Regions from separate parts of the Homo sapiens genome. Here region 1 is linked to region 2. Evidence: promoter capture Hi-C in human tissues and cell types (Jung and others, 2019). All regions are on one chromosome and are shown on one strand. The core of a region is centred on a gene start or on the middle of the fragment in contact, and the rest is flanking DNA. Distances in the headings are between cores, read along the strand shown.

The links. Contacts are between HindIII fragments. The study calls those that stand out against the background at their distance.
Region 1: the fragment with the promoter of MEFV here is called in contact with a fragment that was not itself captured in region 2 in 1 of the 25 tissues and cell types used here (mesenchymal stem cells).

What each region holds. Positions count from the first base shown.
Region 1 is chr16:3,253,520-3,261,089 of GRCh38, forward strand. MEFV (MEFV innate immunity regulator, pyrin) reads right to left here and starts at 3,114. Exons shown (of 10, transcript NM_000243.3): 1 at 2,792-3,114; 2 at 639-1,271. The coding sequence starts at 3,068. The HindIII fragment of the contact is 7,133 bases long and covers 1,900-7,570 here.
Region 2 is chr16:3,418,140-3,425,264 of GRCh38, forward strand. No RefSeq gene overlaps it. Among named protein-coding and RNA genes, the nearest start is that of ZNF174, 20 kb to the left of the region's middle. RefSeq lists a silencer at 2,164-2,446. The HindIII fragment of the contact is 7,760 bases long and covers 1-6,468 here.

The DNA.
Region 1 (7,570 bases), core at 1,864-4,363, 160 kb before region 2:
CAAAATGTTTAAGAGACAGGGTCTTGCTCTGTTGCCCAGGCCGGAGTGCAGTGGCACATCCTCAGCTCACTGCAGCCTGGAACTCCCTGGCTCAAGCAATCCTCCTGCCTCAGCTTCCTGAGTGGCTAGAATTACAGGCGTGTGCCACCATACCCAGCTAATTTTTTTTTTAGTTTTGTAGAAGTGGAGTCTGGCTACGTTGCTCAGGCTGGTGTGCAGTGGCATGATCTCAGCTCACTGTAGCCTGGAACTCCGTCTGCTCAAGTGAACCCGAGCAGCTGGGACTACAGGCGCGTGCCACTATTGTATTTTGTAGAGATGGGGTCTCACTGTGTTGCCTAGGCTAGTATGGAACTCCTGGGGTCAAGAGATCCTCCCGTGCAGGCCTCTCAAAGCTCTGGGATTACAGGCGAGAGCTACCACGCCCTGCCCAACCTTTGGGTTTTTATTTTTTTAATTTCGTTTATAGAGATGGCGGGGGTCTCACTACATTCACCAGGCTGGTCTCAAAGTCTTGGCCTCCAGCAATCCTCCCGCCCTGGCCTCCCAAAGCGCTGGGATTACAGGCATGAGCTATCGTGCCCGGCCAGCCATTCTTTCTCTGCAGCCGATATAAAGTAGGAAAGAACACAATTTACCGGTGACCGAATGTTCTGGATTTCCAGGGCCTTCCTTCAGGTCCGCAGATGCCCCTCCATCCGGAGTGGGCCTTGCCCGGGGTTCTGTTGCCGAGTCCAGATTCGCAGCTGTCTTTTCCTCTAGAGTCAGGAGAATTTCTGGATTTGCGGGCGCCTTCTCCCCTGTAGAAATGGTGACCTCAAGGCTTCTAGGTCGCATCTTTCCCGAGGGCAGGTACACTTCGAAGGGCCTGCACTCCTTCTGCCCCGGGGCGCCCCCCGCCAGCCCCTGCAGCCTCCCCGCGGAGCTGGCGTTTCTGCGCAGCCGGACCTCGGCCTGGCCCCCCTCTAGCGCCCTGCAGGGGCCGGGGCTTCTCCCGCCCGGCAGGGCCGGGCTCCGGGTCCGAGGCTTGCCCTGCGCGTCCAGGCCCTCCGAGGCCTTCTCTCTGCGTTTGCTCAGGGGCTTCCTCGACAGCCCCCTCCCGGCCTCGGGCTGGCTGCACCGCAGGCTGGCAGCTCCGCCCCCGTACGGCCGAGGGCCGTTCCCCTCGTTCCCCTCGGGGTGGTCTGGAGTCTTCAGGCTCCTGGGCTTGTTCTCCCCCAGGGAGCTGGACGCTGCGGAATCATCTGTGCCGTTTTCTTGTGTGGAATATTCTGGAAGGACAACCAGATGCAAAATGATGAAGCTGTCCCACGTTTAGGGCCCAAGATTCAGGGCAGAGGAGAGAGAATCCCCTTGGATATTAAAGTTTAGAAATTGAGGAAAACAACGGGCCGGGCGCGGTGGCTCATGCCTGTATTCCCGGCACTCTGGGAGGCCGAGGCGGGAGGATCACCTGAGATCAGGAGTTCAAGACCAACAGGGTGAAACCCCGTCTCTACTAAAAATACAAAAATAAGCTGAGCGTGGTGGCGCATGCCTGTAATCCCAGCTTCTCCAGAGGCCAAGGTGGGAGGATCATTTGAGGTCAGGAGTTCGAGACCAGCCTGGCCAACATGGCAAAACCCCGTTCCTACTAAAAATAAGAAACTCAGCCAGACGCGGTGGTGCGCACCTGTAGTCCCAGCTACTCGGGAGGCTGAGGCATGAGAATCGCTTGAGCCCGGGATGTGGAGGTTGCAGTGAGCTGAGATCGGGCCACTGCACTCCAGCCTGAGTGACAGAGCAAGACTCCATCTCAAAAACAAAAGTTCAGGACTTCCTAGACTAGACAATGGCAGTCAATTACCATTCAGTAAGAACATGCTTGATGTTGCTATGTATTTCTCTCTCTCTTATTTTATTTTTTGAGACAGGATCTTGCTCTGTTGCCCTGATGTGATCTCAGCTCACTGCAACCTCTGCCTCCCAGGCTCAAGCAATCCTCTCACCTCAGCCTGTTTTCTGTTTTTTCAATAGCTGAAAATACAGGTGTGTGCTACCACGCCTGGCTCATTTTTTTGTATTTTTGGTAGAGACAGGGTTTCACCATGTTGCCCAAGCTGGTCTCAAACTCCTGAGCTCTAGCAATCCACCCACCTTAGCCTCCCAAAGTGCTGAGATTATTTATAAGTGTGAGCCACCATGCCTAGCCTATATTTCTCAAATAGTACTTTTCAAACGTTTTAAGCAGGACAACTGTTTCAAATAAGATCTTACACAGGTCAGCAAAACCCAGATTATACGCTTTAAAAATAAAAATAAGCCGGGCACGGTGGCCTATGTCTGAAATCCCAGCACTTTGGGAGGCTGAGGCGGGAGGATCACTTGAGGTCAGGAGTTCGAGACCAGCCTGGCCAACATGGTGAACAGCACTGAGAAGATTCTATACCAACCCCGTTCATATGATTGCATAGCAATCCCTTTTTGCTAACCTAGAGATGTTTGTCTGACATGAGTATTAATCATAAATGTAGTGAAGAAGTCTCAAAGAACAGGTGTTCCAGCTCCTGCCTTTCGTGACCCTGACCTGCTTCTTAAAAAACCCATTAGGAGCCTGAAGGAAGTTTACTAACCCAGTTCCAAAGGCCAGAGTGAAGAAAGGGACGTTCCTGAACTAAAGTCATCTGGATTTTGGTAGACCTGAGACTCCCAATCCCCAGGTCAGAGTGAGCTGCTCTGAGCTCCTGGTCCCCTTTCCCACAAAGCAGCCAGCACTCAGCACTGGATGAGGAGGAGGCCTGGGCCCGCTTACCCTGAATGGCTGCCCTGTGGAGCTCCTCGGCCAGCAGGCGCTGGTTGATGGCCCGCAGGACCTGCAGGGTGAGCTGCACGGCGTACTCTTCCCCATAGTAGGTGACCAGCAGAGTGGCCATCTTCACCGGCCTGGCTCTCTGGATCTGGCTCCGGGGGATCCTGGAGTGCTCCTTCTGCACACTGGTGTTCTGCAGCTTGAACTTGAACTTCTCGAAGTCATAGGGCACCAGCTCCTCCAGGGTGGACAGCAGATGGTCACTAGGGGTCTTAGCCATGGTGCTGAGCAGGAGAGGCTCGAGCCAGCTGTCTGGCTTCTGGTAGGAAAAGAAGCCTCTGTCCTTGGTGAGCAAGAAAAGGCAGGTTGTGAAATAGCGGAAAAGGCACAGGAAATGCTCTGTGTCTTGGTGGGAACTGAGACTAAGGGTAAGGGTGTGTCCATGCCGGCTGTGTTCTCTTCTTACAGGTTCAGAGGATTTTCCAGCTGGGAGGGCTCCATGCCTTGGCAGACATGTGCCCCCACACCCCTCCCAAACCCTGGACCTCGCCTCCACACTAGACCACAGACAGATGGGCAAGTCTGCAAGGGAAGGTCTGGGATTGGATTCCAGACACCCCCTCCAATCTTCCTTCCTGCCAGGATCTGGGGCTGGCAGAGCGGGTGAGTGGGAACAGAGAGGACTATGCTGAGGGCCCGCCCTGCTGGTCAACTGTTCTCCTCCAGACTCGGGGTTTCAGGGACCTTCCAGAGCCAATGGCACAGGACGGGGGAAGGGGTGGGCACTGAATACAGTCCTGTGAGCTTTGCCTTTCCTGGCCCAAGAAGGCAAGTGAGGCCAGAAGGGCACTGCCAGGAGATAACTCTTGCCATGCCATCACCCCTGTTGATCCGGTTCCAGTTGACTGGTTCTTCCAGCCACATGAAGGACTTGAAAAGCAATGCCTGGACCACCAGCCTGACTCATCTGTTCCCAGAGCTGACTCAGTCCTCGCTCCCTGGAGCCAGAATGCTCTTCCGTGCACATTCATTGAACATTCTAGACAGTGTGCCAAGATGCTGGAGCTACACGGGTGAAAAGGCACGGGTGTCCTTCAGCTCATATGTGGTGCAGGGCCCCAGAGGTGGCTTTGAAGCTAACAGAAGTTACATGTTGGGGGCAGGGCACAGTGGCTAACGCCTGTAATCCCAGCACTTTGGGAGGCCGAGGTGGGTGGATCACCTCAGGTTGGGAGTACAAGACCAGCCTGGCCAACACAGTAAAACCCCATCTCTACTAAAAATACAAAAATTAGCCAGGCATGGTGGCACGCACCTGTACTCCCAGCTACTCAGGAGGCTGAGGCAGGAGAATCACTTGAACATGGGAGGCAGATGTTGCAGTGAGCCGAGGTTGCGCCATTGTACTCCAGCTTGGGCGACAGAGCGGGACTTTGTCTCAAAAAAAATAAATAAATGAAAAATTACATGTAGGGTGAACTGACTCCTCACTTACCTACTTCTGACCGTTGCATACCCTAATTTTTTTATTTTTAGATAGGGTCTTGCTCAGTCACTCAGGCTGGAGTGCAGTAGTGGGATCTTGGCTCACTGCAACTTCTGCCTCCTGGGCTTGAGCAACCCTCCAACCTCAGCCTCCCAAGTAGCTGAGACTACAGGTGCATTCCACCACATCTGGCCAATTTTTGTATTTTTTATAGAGACAGGGTCTCACTATGTTGCGCAGGCTGGTCTTGAACTCCTGATCTCAAGCGATCCACTCGCTTTGGCCTCCCAAAGTGCTGGGATTACAGGTGTGAGCCACTGCGCCCGGCCAGAAGTTTTGTTAATAATGCAATTTACCCTTCACCAGCACTTCCTCGGCACCAGCCACCACTAGCTTTATAAACACTTCCTCCTAGAATCTCTGCAGCACCCTGCAGGGCTGCGTTTATCATCCCCCTGTGCAGCCAAGAATCTGTAGCTTAGTGACTTGCCTAGAGCCAAGATCCAAACGTCAAACCACTTCACAACATCGTCTCCTGCATGACAATAATTTGTGATTTTACTGTTAATGACTACCCATGGATGTCACATTTCCAGCTGACCACTGAGGTCCAGGATGGGTCACTTCCACAGGTCAGTCACAACATTGCGACGCCTAGCTGAACACCCAGCTCTGGGTGTGAGCTCCTCTGTGTGTGCCCAGCCTGGGATTCAAGGCTTTGATGAGTTCTGGTTGGTTGAATTTAACTTACTGTCCAGCTGGTCCACCTGTTTCCTATTTCACAGAGTATTTGGTGTTTTTGCATTGTTTTCATAGCTGACAACAAACATGCAGTTTGCTAGATCTTTCTGAGCCCAAACCCAACATCTTCCCTAAAAAAAGGGTGAATTGGGCTGGGTGTAGTGGCTCACACCTGCAATCCCAGCCCTTGGGAGGCTGAGACAGGAGGATTACTTAAGCCCAAGAGTTTGAGATTAGCCTGGGCAACATAAGGAGACCCTGCCTCTACAAAAAATAGAAAAAATATTAGCTGGGTGTGGTGGCACACACTGGTGGTCCCTGCTGCTACTCAGGAGGCTGAGGTGGGAAGATTGCTTGAGCCTAGGTTCAGGCTGCAATGAGCTGTGATTGCACCACTGCTCTCCAGCCTGGGTGACACAGCAAGACACCCTGTCTCAAAAAAAAAAAAAAAAAAAAAAAAAAAAAGTGGATGAAATGCACATTGATGGTGCAGACAGCAGATTTTTGGAATTTTTAGGCTGGGCCAGAAGAAGGGTGTTGAATGGGGTATCACTGGGGCCAGCACCCGTCCCTGACTCTGGACGGTGGCAACCCAGCACCTCCCAGGCAGTCTCCCACTACCAGATGGAGAAAGGATGAGACTGTGCAGTGACGCTGTGGGTGCTGTGTGATCCCATCTCGTCTGGTCAGAAAACTCCTCGGAGCTGATACCAAAACCCCATGACAGAATTGGGCAGGGAATGATACTTTCTGGTCTAAAGCAGGATATTTTGCAATTGCGGTGACACGTTTTGCAACAGAGGCTGCTCTGAGGCAGGACTTCTGGAAGGCAGTGTTTTGATGCCACTTTGGACTTTCTAGGGCAAGGCAGGCTCACAAAGCTTTTGTTTGGAGGGGTTCCAGTAATTTCTCACAGTGAAAATAGAATTATTGCCCTTCTAACGTCATTTAAGTGTTTAATAATCAAAGTGGAATGGTCATGGGCTGTCTTGTGTGCCCCTGCCATTGGATGTGTGACCTTATTTGGGGTGACATGGCAAATCTAAACCCAACAAAGCTGCTGCAAAGGGTCTACTCTCGGCTATTACTCCTGGGAAATGTGCGGCTCAGACACCACGACCTTCACTCCACTCCTGGTCACCAGGGGTTTCACTTTCTATGGCATTTACTTCTGCACATTTTGGGATTTAAAAAAATGAAGATTGTATTACTTTCGTAATAAGCAAAAAAGATAGTTTTAAAAAGTCTTTCAGACCAGGTGTGGTGGCGCACGCCTGTAATTTCAACACTTTGGAAGGCCGAGACAGGTGGATCACTTGAGGTCAGGAGTTCCAGACCAGCCTGGCCAACACGGCAAAACCTCGTCTCTAATGAAAATACAAAAATTAGCCAGGTGAGGTGGCCCGCGCCTGTAATCCCAGGTACTCCGGAGGCTGAGGTAGAACTGCTTGAACCTGGGAGGTGGAGGTTTCAGTGAGTCGAGATTGCATCACTGCACTCCAGGTTGGGCAACAGAGCAAGATTCCGTATTTAAAAAAAAAAAAAGTCTTTCACAATTAGCTTAACTTCTAAGGGAGTATCAGTCCCGTGCCCCTAAACCATCATGATAAAGGAGGTATATAGTATTTACTTATTTATTTACTTGATTTATTTTGAGACAGAGTCTCACTCTTATCACCTGGGCTGGAGTGCAGTGGCAAGATCATGGCCCACTGCAACCTCCGCCTCCCGGGTTCAAGCGATTCTCCTGCCTCTGCCTCCCGAGTAGCTGGCATTACAGGTGCCCGCCATTACACCCAGCTAATTTTTTGTATTTTTAGTAGAGACGGGGTTTCACCATGTTGGCCAGGCTGGTCTTGAACTCCTGACCTTGTGATTCGCCCGCCTCAGCCTCCCAAAGTTCTGGGATTACAGGCGTGCGCCACCGTGACCAGCCAACTATTTTTTCATAGATGATGAAATGTAGGCTTACAGGTAGGGTGACCAACACATTTTGTCTAGGAGCAAAACCCAATTTGCCCAGTCTTAGCACTGAAAGCCTAGTTCTGGGAACGACCACAGTCCGGGGAAATTGGGACAATTGCCCACCCTGTTTAGATGGGTTAATTGACATACTGAACACATGTCTAGCTAGGAAGAGGCACCACAGGGCCATTCATTTACTCTTGGAGCACCTGCTGTATGCCAGATGCTATTCTAGGTACTACTGATACAGAACTGAACAGAAAAAAACTTCTTGCAGTGCTCACATTCTTTTTTTTCTGATATAAATGCCCTTCAGAAGAGGCCACATTCTTTTTTTTTTTTCGAGATGGAATTTCACTCAGTCGCCCAGGCTGGAGGGCAGTAGCGCAATCTCGCCACTGCAACCTCTGCCTCCAGTGTTTGAGCGATCCTCCTGCCTCAGCGTCCCAAGTAGTTGGGATTATAGGTACCGACAACCACGCCTGGCTAATTTTTGTATTTTTAGTAGAGACGGGGTTTCACCATGTTGGCCAGGCTGGTCTTAAACTCCCGGCCTCAAGTGATTTACCCACCTCGGCCTCCCAAAGTGC
Region 2 (7,125 bases), core at 1,339-3,838:
GCCTGGGAAACACAGTGAGACTGTCTCAAAAAAAACAAAAACAAAAGCAAAAACAAAACAAAACCAAACACTTATGGTTGGGAGCAGTGTCTCATGCCTGTAATCCCAGCACTTTGGGAGGCTGAGGTGGGAGGATCACTTGAGCCCAGGAGTTCAAGACCAGCCTGGGCAACATATCAAGTCCCCATCGCTACAGAGAAAAACATTTTTTTTTGAGACAGAGTCTTGCTGTGTCACCAGGCTGGAGTTCAGTGGTGCAACCTTGGCTCACGGCAACCTCCACCTCCCAGGCTCAAGCAATTCTCCTGCCTCGGCCTCCTGAGTAGCTGGGACTACAGGCACATGCCACCACGCCCGGCAAATTTTTTGTATTTTTAGTAAAGACAGGGTTTTACCGTGTTAGCCAGGATGGTCTTGATCTCCTTACCTTGTGATCTGCCTGCCTTGGCCTCCCAAAGTGTTGGTATTACAGGCGTGAGCCACCACACCCAGCCTACAGAAAAATTTAAAAAATTGGACAAGTGTGGTGGCACATGCTGTAGTCTCAGCTGCTTGGGAGGCCAAGGCAGGAGGATTACTTGAGCCCAGGAGCTAGGCTGCAATGAATTATGATTGTACCACTGCAGTCTAGTCTGGGGGAGTGAGAGCCCATCTCAAAAAAATAAAATGAAATAAAGAGAAGAATGAAATTACTCTTTGATCCATGGGCTGCAGAATAAATGTTGTGTTAGCAGGCATGAAAACATTAACTTCCTTGTATATCTCCATCAGAGCTCTTGGTTGTCCAGGTGCATTGTAATAAACTGTAATATTTGGAAAGGAATATTTTTTTTTCTGAGCAGTAGGTCTCAACAATGGGCTTAAAATATTCAGCAAACCATGCTGTAAACACATAGGTTGTCATCCAGTCTTTGTTGTTCAACTGATAGAGCACAGGCAGAATAAACATAATTCTTAAGGGCTTCAGGATTTTTCAGAATGGTAAATGAGAACTGGCTTCACCAACGGCATTCACCCCAACAAAAGAGTCAGCCTGCCCTTTAAGGCTTTGAAGCCAGGCATTGACTTCTCCTCTCTAGCTACAAAAGTCTTAGATGGCATCTTTCCCCAATAGCAGGCTGTTTTGTCTACATTGAAAATCTGTTCTTATTGTAGCCACTTTCATCAATGATCTTAGCTAGATCTTCTGGATAACATGCTGCAGTTTCTCCATCAGCACTTGAAGCTTCACCTTGCACTTTTATATTATGGAGATGGCTTTTCTCCTTAAACCTCATGAACCAACTTTTGTTACTTCCCAACATTTCTTCTGCACCTTCTTCACCTCTCTCAGCCTTCACAGAACTGAAGAGAGTTTGGGCCTTGCTCTGGATTAGGCTTTAGTTTAAGGGAATGTTGTGGCTGGTTTGATCTTCTATCCACACCACTCAAACTTGCCCCATATCAGCAAAAAGACTGTTTCACTTTTTTATCATTCATGTGTTCACTGGAGTAGCACTTTAAATTTCCTTCAAGAACTTTTCCTTTGAATTCACAATTTGGTTAAACATTTGGCACAAGAAACCTAGCTTTTGGCCTGTCTCAGGTTTTGACATGCCTTTCTCACTAAGCTTAATCATTTCTACCTTTTGATTTAAAGTGAGAGATGGGCCAAGGGGTGGTTCATGCCTGTAATCTCAGCACTTTGGGAGGCTGGGGTGGGTGGATCACAAGGTCAAGAGTTGGAGACCAACCTGGCCAACATGGTGAAACCCCATCTCTACTAATAATACAAAAATTAGCCAGGAGTGGTGGTGCACACCTGTAGTCCTAGCTACTCAGGAGGCTGAGGCAGGAGAATCGCTTGAACCTGGAAGGCAGAGGATGTAGTGAGCCAAGATCACGACACTGCACTCCAGCCTGGGCGACAGAGCGAGACTCCATCTCCAAAAATAAATAAATAAAGTGAGAGATGTGTGACTCTTCCTTTCACTTGAACACTTAGAGGTCATCGTAGAGTTATTAAGTGGTCTAATGTCAATATTTTTGTGTCTCAGGGAAAAGGGAGGTCCAAGGAGAGGAAGAGCGATGGGAGTATGGCTGGTCAGTGGAACAGTATTGAAAGTTCCATGCAGGCTGGGTGCGGTGGCTCATGCCTGTAATCCCAGCACTTTGGGAGGCCAAGGTGGGCAGATCATGAGGTCAGGAGTTCGAGACCAGCCTGGACAATATGACAAAACCCCGTCTCTACTAAAAATACAAAAATTAGCCGGGCATGCTGGCATGCACCTGTAGTCCCAGCTACTCGGGAGGCTGAGGCAGGAGAATCGCTTGAACCGGGGAGGCAGAGGTTGCAGTGAACTGAGGTCCTACCACTGCACTGCAGCAGGGGTTGACAGAGTGAGACTCCATCAAAAAAAAGAAAGAAAGAAACACAGAAAGAGAGAGAGACGAAAGAAAGAGAGAGAGAGAGAGAGAGAGAAAGAAAGAAAGAAAGAAAGAAAGAAAGAAAGAAAGAAAGAAAGAAAGAAAGAAAGAAAGAAAGTTCCGTGCAGTATTTTCTGTTCCTGCCAGTAGTTTCTGGCCTCCAACTCCATCGATATTCCTGCAAAAGACATGATCTCATTCTTTTTTATGGCTGCACGGTATTTCATGGTGTATATGTACGTTTTCTTTATCCAGTCGTCACTGATGGGCCTTTGATTCCACGTCTTTGTTATTGTGAATGGTGCTGCTGTGAACATTCATGTGCATGTGTCTTTACAAGAGAATGATTTATATTTCTCTGGGTACATACCCAGTAATGGGATTGTGGGGTCAAACTGTAGTTCTCTTTTTAGCACTTTGAGGAATCGCCATACTGCTCTCCACAATGGTTGGGCGAAATTTATACTCCCACTAACAGTGTATAAGTGTTCCCTTTTCTCTGCAATCTTGCCAGCATATTTTTTGACTTTTTAATAACAGCCATTATCACTGGTGTGAGATGGTATCTCATTATGGTTTTGATTTGCATTTCTTTAATGATTAGTGATATTGAGCTTTTTTTCTTATGATTGTTGGTTGCATGTATGTCTTCTTTTGAAAATTGTCTGTTCATGTCCTTTGCCTACTTTTTAATGGGGTTGTTTTTCTCTTGCAAATTTGTTTACATTCCTTATAGATGCTGGATATTAGACCTTTGTCAGACGCATATTTGCAAATATTTTCTTCCATTCTGGAGGTTGTCTGTTTACTCTGTTGATAGTTTCTTTTGCTGTGCAGAGGAAGCTCTTTAGTTCAATTAGGTCCCATGTCTCAATTTTTGCTTTTGTTGCAATTGCTTTTGGAGTCTTTGTCATGAAATATTTTCGATCCTATGTCCAAGACGGTATTGCCTCGGTTGTCTTCTAGGGTTTTTATAGCTTTGGATTTTACATTTAAGTCTTTAATCCATCTTGAGTTGATTTTTGTATATGGTGTAAAGAAGGGGTCCAGTTTCAATCTTCTGCATATGGCTAGCCAATTATCCCAGCACCATTTATTGAACAGGGATTCCCTCCACCCACACACCATTGCTTGTTTTTGTCAGCTTTATTGAAGATCAGATGATCTTAGGAGTGTGGCCTTATTTCTGGTCTCTCTATTCTGTTCCATTGGCCTATGTGCCTGTTTTTGTACCAGTACCATGCTGTTTTGGTTACTGTAGCCCTGTAGGACAGTTTGAAGTCAGGTAATGTGATGCCTCCAACTTTGTTCTTTTTGCTTAGGATTGCCTTGGCTATTCAGGCTCTTTTTGGTTCCATGTGAATTTTTTTTTTTTTTTTTTGAGACAGAGTCTTGCTCTGTTGCCCAGGCTGGAGTGCAGTGGCGCAATCTTGGCTCACTGCAAGCTCCGCCTCTCGGGTTCATGCCATTCTTCTGCCTCAGCCTCATGTGTAGCTGGGACTACAGGCACCTGCCACCATGCCCAGCTAATTTTTTTTTTTTTGGTATTTTTAGTAAAGATGGGGTTTCGCCGTGTTAGCCAGGATGGTCTCAATCTCCTGATCTCGTAATCTGCCCATCTCGGCCTCCCAAAGTGCTGGGATTACAGGTGTGAGTCACCGCAGCCAGCTGGTTCCATGTGAATTTTAAAATAGTTTTTTATAATTCTATGAAGAATGTCATTGGTAGTTTGATAGGAATAGCATTGAATCTACAAATTGCTTTGGGCAATATGTCCATTTTAATGATATTTATTCTTCCAATCCATGAGCATGGGATGTTTTTCCATTTGTGTCATCTCTGATTTATTTCAGCTGTGTGCTGTAATTCTCATTGTAGGGATCTTTCACCTCCCTAGTTAGCTGTATTCCTAGGTATTTTATATACTTATTTATTTTTTTGAGATGGAATCTTGCTGGGATTACAGGTGTGAGCCTCCATGCACGGCTTGGTATTTTATTCTTTTTGTGGCAATTGTGAATGGGATTGCCTTCCTGATTTGACTCTCGGCTTGGCTGTTGTATGTGCATAGGAATGCCGGTAATTTTTGTACATTGACTTTGTATCCTGAAACTTTGCTGAAGTTGTTTATCAGCTGAAGGAACTTTTGGGCTGAGACAATGGGGTTTCCTAGATAGAAACATGTCATCTGCAAACAGGGAGAGTCTGACTTCTTTTCTTCCTATTTGGATGCCTTTTCTTTCTTTCTCTTGCCTCATTATTCTGGCCAGGACTTCCAATACTACGTTGAATAAAAGTGGTGAGAGAGGGCATTATTGACTTGTGCCAGTTTTCAAAGGGAATCCATCCTGCTTTTCCTCATTCAATGTGTTGGTTATTTTATGTTTTCTTTAGAAAAATGTCCATTCAAATTCATTGCCCATTTTTTAATTGGGCTATTTGGTTAATTTGTTTTTGAGTTGTGTGAGTTCCTCATATATTTGATGACTTTATCAGATATATTATTTGCAGGTATTTTCTTTTAATCCATAGTCTACCTTTTCATTTTGTTGACTGCCTCCTTTGCTTTGCAGCAGTTTTATAGCTTGATGTAATCCTACTTGTTTCTTGTGTCTTGCTTTGTTTTTTTTTTTGCCTCAGCTTTTGGTGTGATATTCAAAAAATCATTGCTGGCTGAGTGCAGTGGGTTACATTTGCAATCCCAGCACTTTGGGAGGCTGAGGCAGGCGGATCACCTGAGGTCAGGAGTTCGAGACCAGCCTGGCCAACATGGCAAAACCCCGTCTCTACTAAAAGTACAAAAATTAGCTGGGTATGGTGGTACACACTGTAATCCCAGCTACTTGGGAGGCTGAGGCAGGAGAATTGCTTGAGCCCGAGAGGTGGAGGTTGCAGTGAGTCAAGATAGCACCACTGCACTCCAGCTGGGTGAGACAGAGCAAGACTCTGTCTCAAAAACAAAAAACAAAAACAACAACAAACAAAACATAAAATAAAAAATAAGGAAAGATTTACTATTGATATTTTGTTACTTATTTCTGTTAGTCTTATAGTCCTTCTGTCCCTTTCTCTTGCTGTTTTCTTTTGTATTTCACTGTTTTTTTTTTTTTTTTTTTTTTGAGATGGAGTCTTGCTCTGTCACCCAGGCTGGAGGGCAATGGCACAATCTCGGCTCACTGCAACCTTCGCCTTCTGGTTCAAGCAATTCTCCTGCCTCAGCCTTCCAAGTAGCTGGGATTACAAGTGTGCAGCACCACACCTGGCTAATTTTTCTATTTTTAGTAGAGATGGGGTTTTGCCATGTTGGACAGGCTAGTCTCGAACTCCTGGCCTATGTTTTCATTATTTTCTCCTTTTCTTTAATTCTATAGGCATTTTCTTTGTAGTTACCAAGTGTTTACATAAAATCTCTTATAATAGTCTACTTTAAGCTGATAACAACTTAACTTCCCTTGCATGTCAGAACTTTGCTTTTATCTCTCTTCCCCTGGCTTATATGCTATTGATATCACCACTAACACCTATTTATATTGTACCAATTAACATAATATAGTTGTTTTACTACTTTTGTCTTTTAACTTTTATAAGAGAACTAAAATTGATTTACCCACTACTGTTATAGTAATACACTATTGGTTTTGACTATATATTTACCTTTGCCAATGAGTTTCATACTTCGTGTGCTCCTGTTACTGTTTTCCATACTTTTGTTTTAACCTTAAGAACTCTCTTTAGCATTTCTTATAAGGCAGGTCTAGTGGTGATAATCTCCCTCAGCTTTTGTTTGAGAAAGTCTTTATTTCCCTCTCATTTTTGAAGTATGGGTTTGTTGGATATAGCATTCTTGACTGGAAGTTTTTTTCTTTCAGCACTTTGTATCTATTGTCCCACTCCTTTCTGGCCCACAAGGTTTATGCTGGAAACTCTGTTAATAGTTTTATTAGGGGACCCTTGTACACAGAAGTTGCTTTTCCCTTGGCTGCTTTCAAAATTCTGTCTCTAACTTTTGACAATTTGATTGTAATGTATGTCAGTGTGGATCTCTTTGGATTCATCTTATTTTTTTTTTTTTTGAGACAGTCTCGCTCTGTCGCTCAGGCTGGAGTGCTATGGCATGATCTAGGCTCACTGCAACCTCCACCTCCCAGGTTCAAGCCATTCTCCTGCCTCAGCCTCCTGAGTAGCTGGCATTACAGGCACATGCCACCGCGCGCGGCTAATTTTTATATTTTTAGCAGAGACGGGGTTTCACCATGTTGGCCAGGCTGGTCTCGAACTCCTGACCTCAAGTGATCCACCTGCCTCGGCCTCCCAAAGGGCTGGGATTACAGGCATGAGCCACCGCACCTGGCAGGATTCATCTTATTTCATGTCCCTTGGACTTCTTGGGTCTTGATTTCTATTTCATTCCCCAGTTTTGGAAGGGTTTCAGCCACTGTTTGTTTGAATATGCTTTCTGTCCGTTTTGCTCTCTCTGCCTTCTGAAAATCCACTAATGCATACATTAGTCTACTCGATGGTGTCCCTTAAGTACCTTAATCTATCCTCACTCTTTCTTTTTTTCTCATTTTTGCCCCTCTGGTTGGATAATTTCCAATGGCTGGTCTTCAAATTCACTGACTCTTTTTTCTGCTTGACCTAGTCTGTGAGTGAAACCCTCTAGAGAATTTTTCAGATGAGTTATTATGTACTTCAGATCTATAACTTCTGTTTGGTATG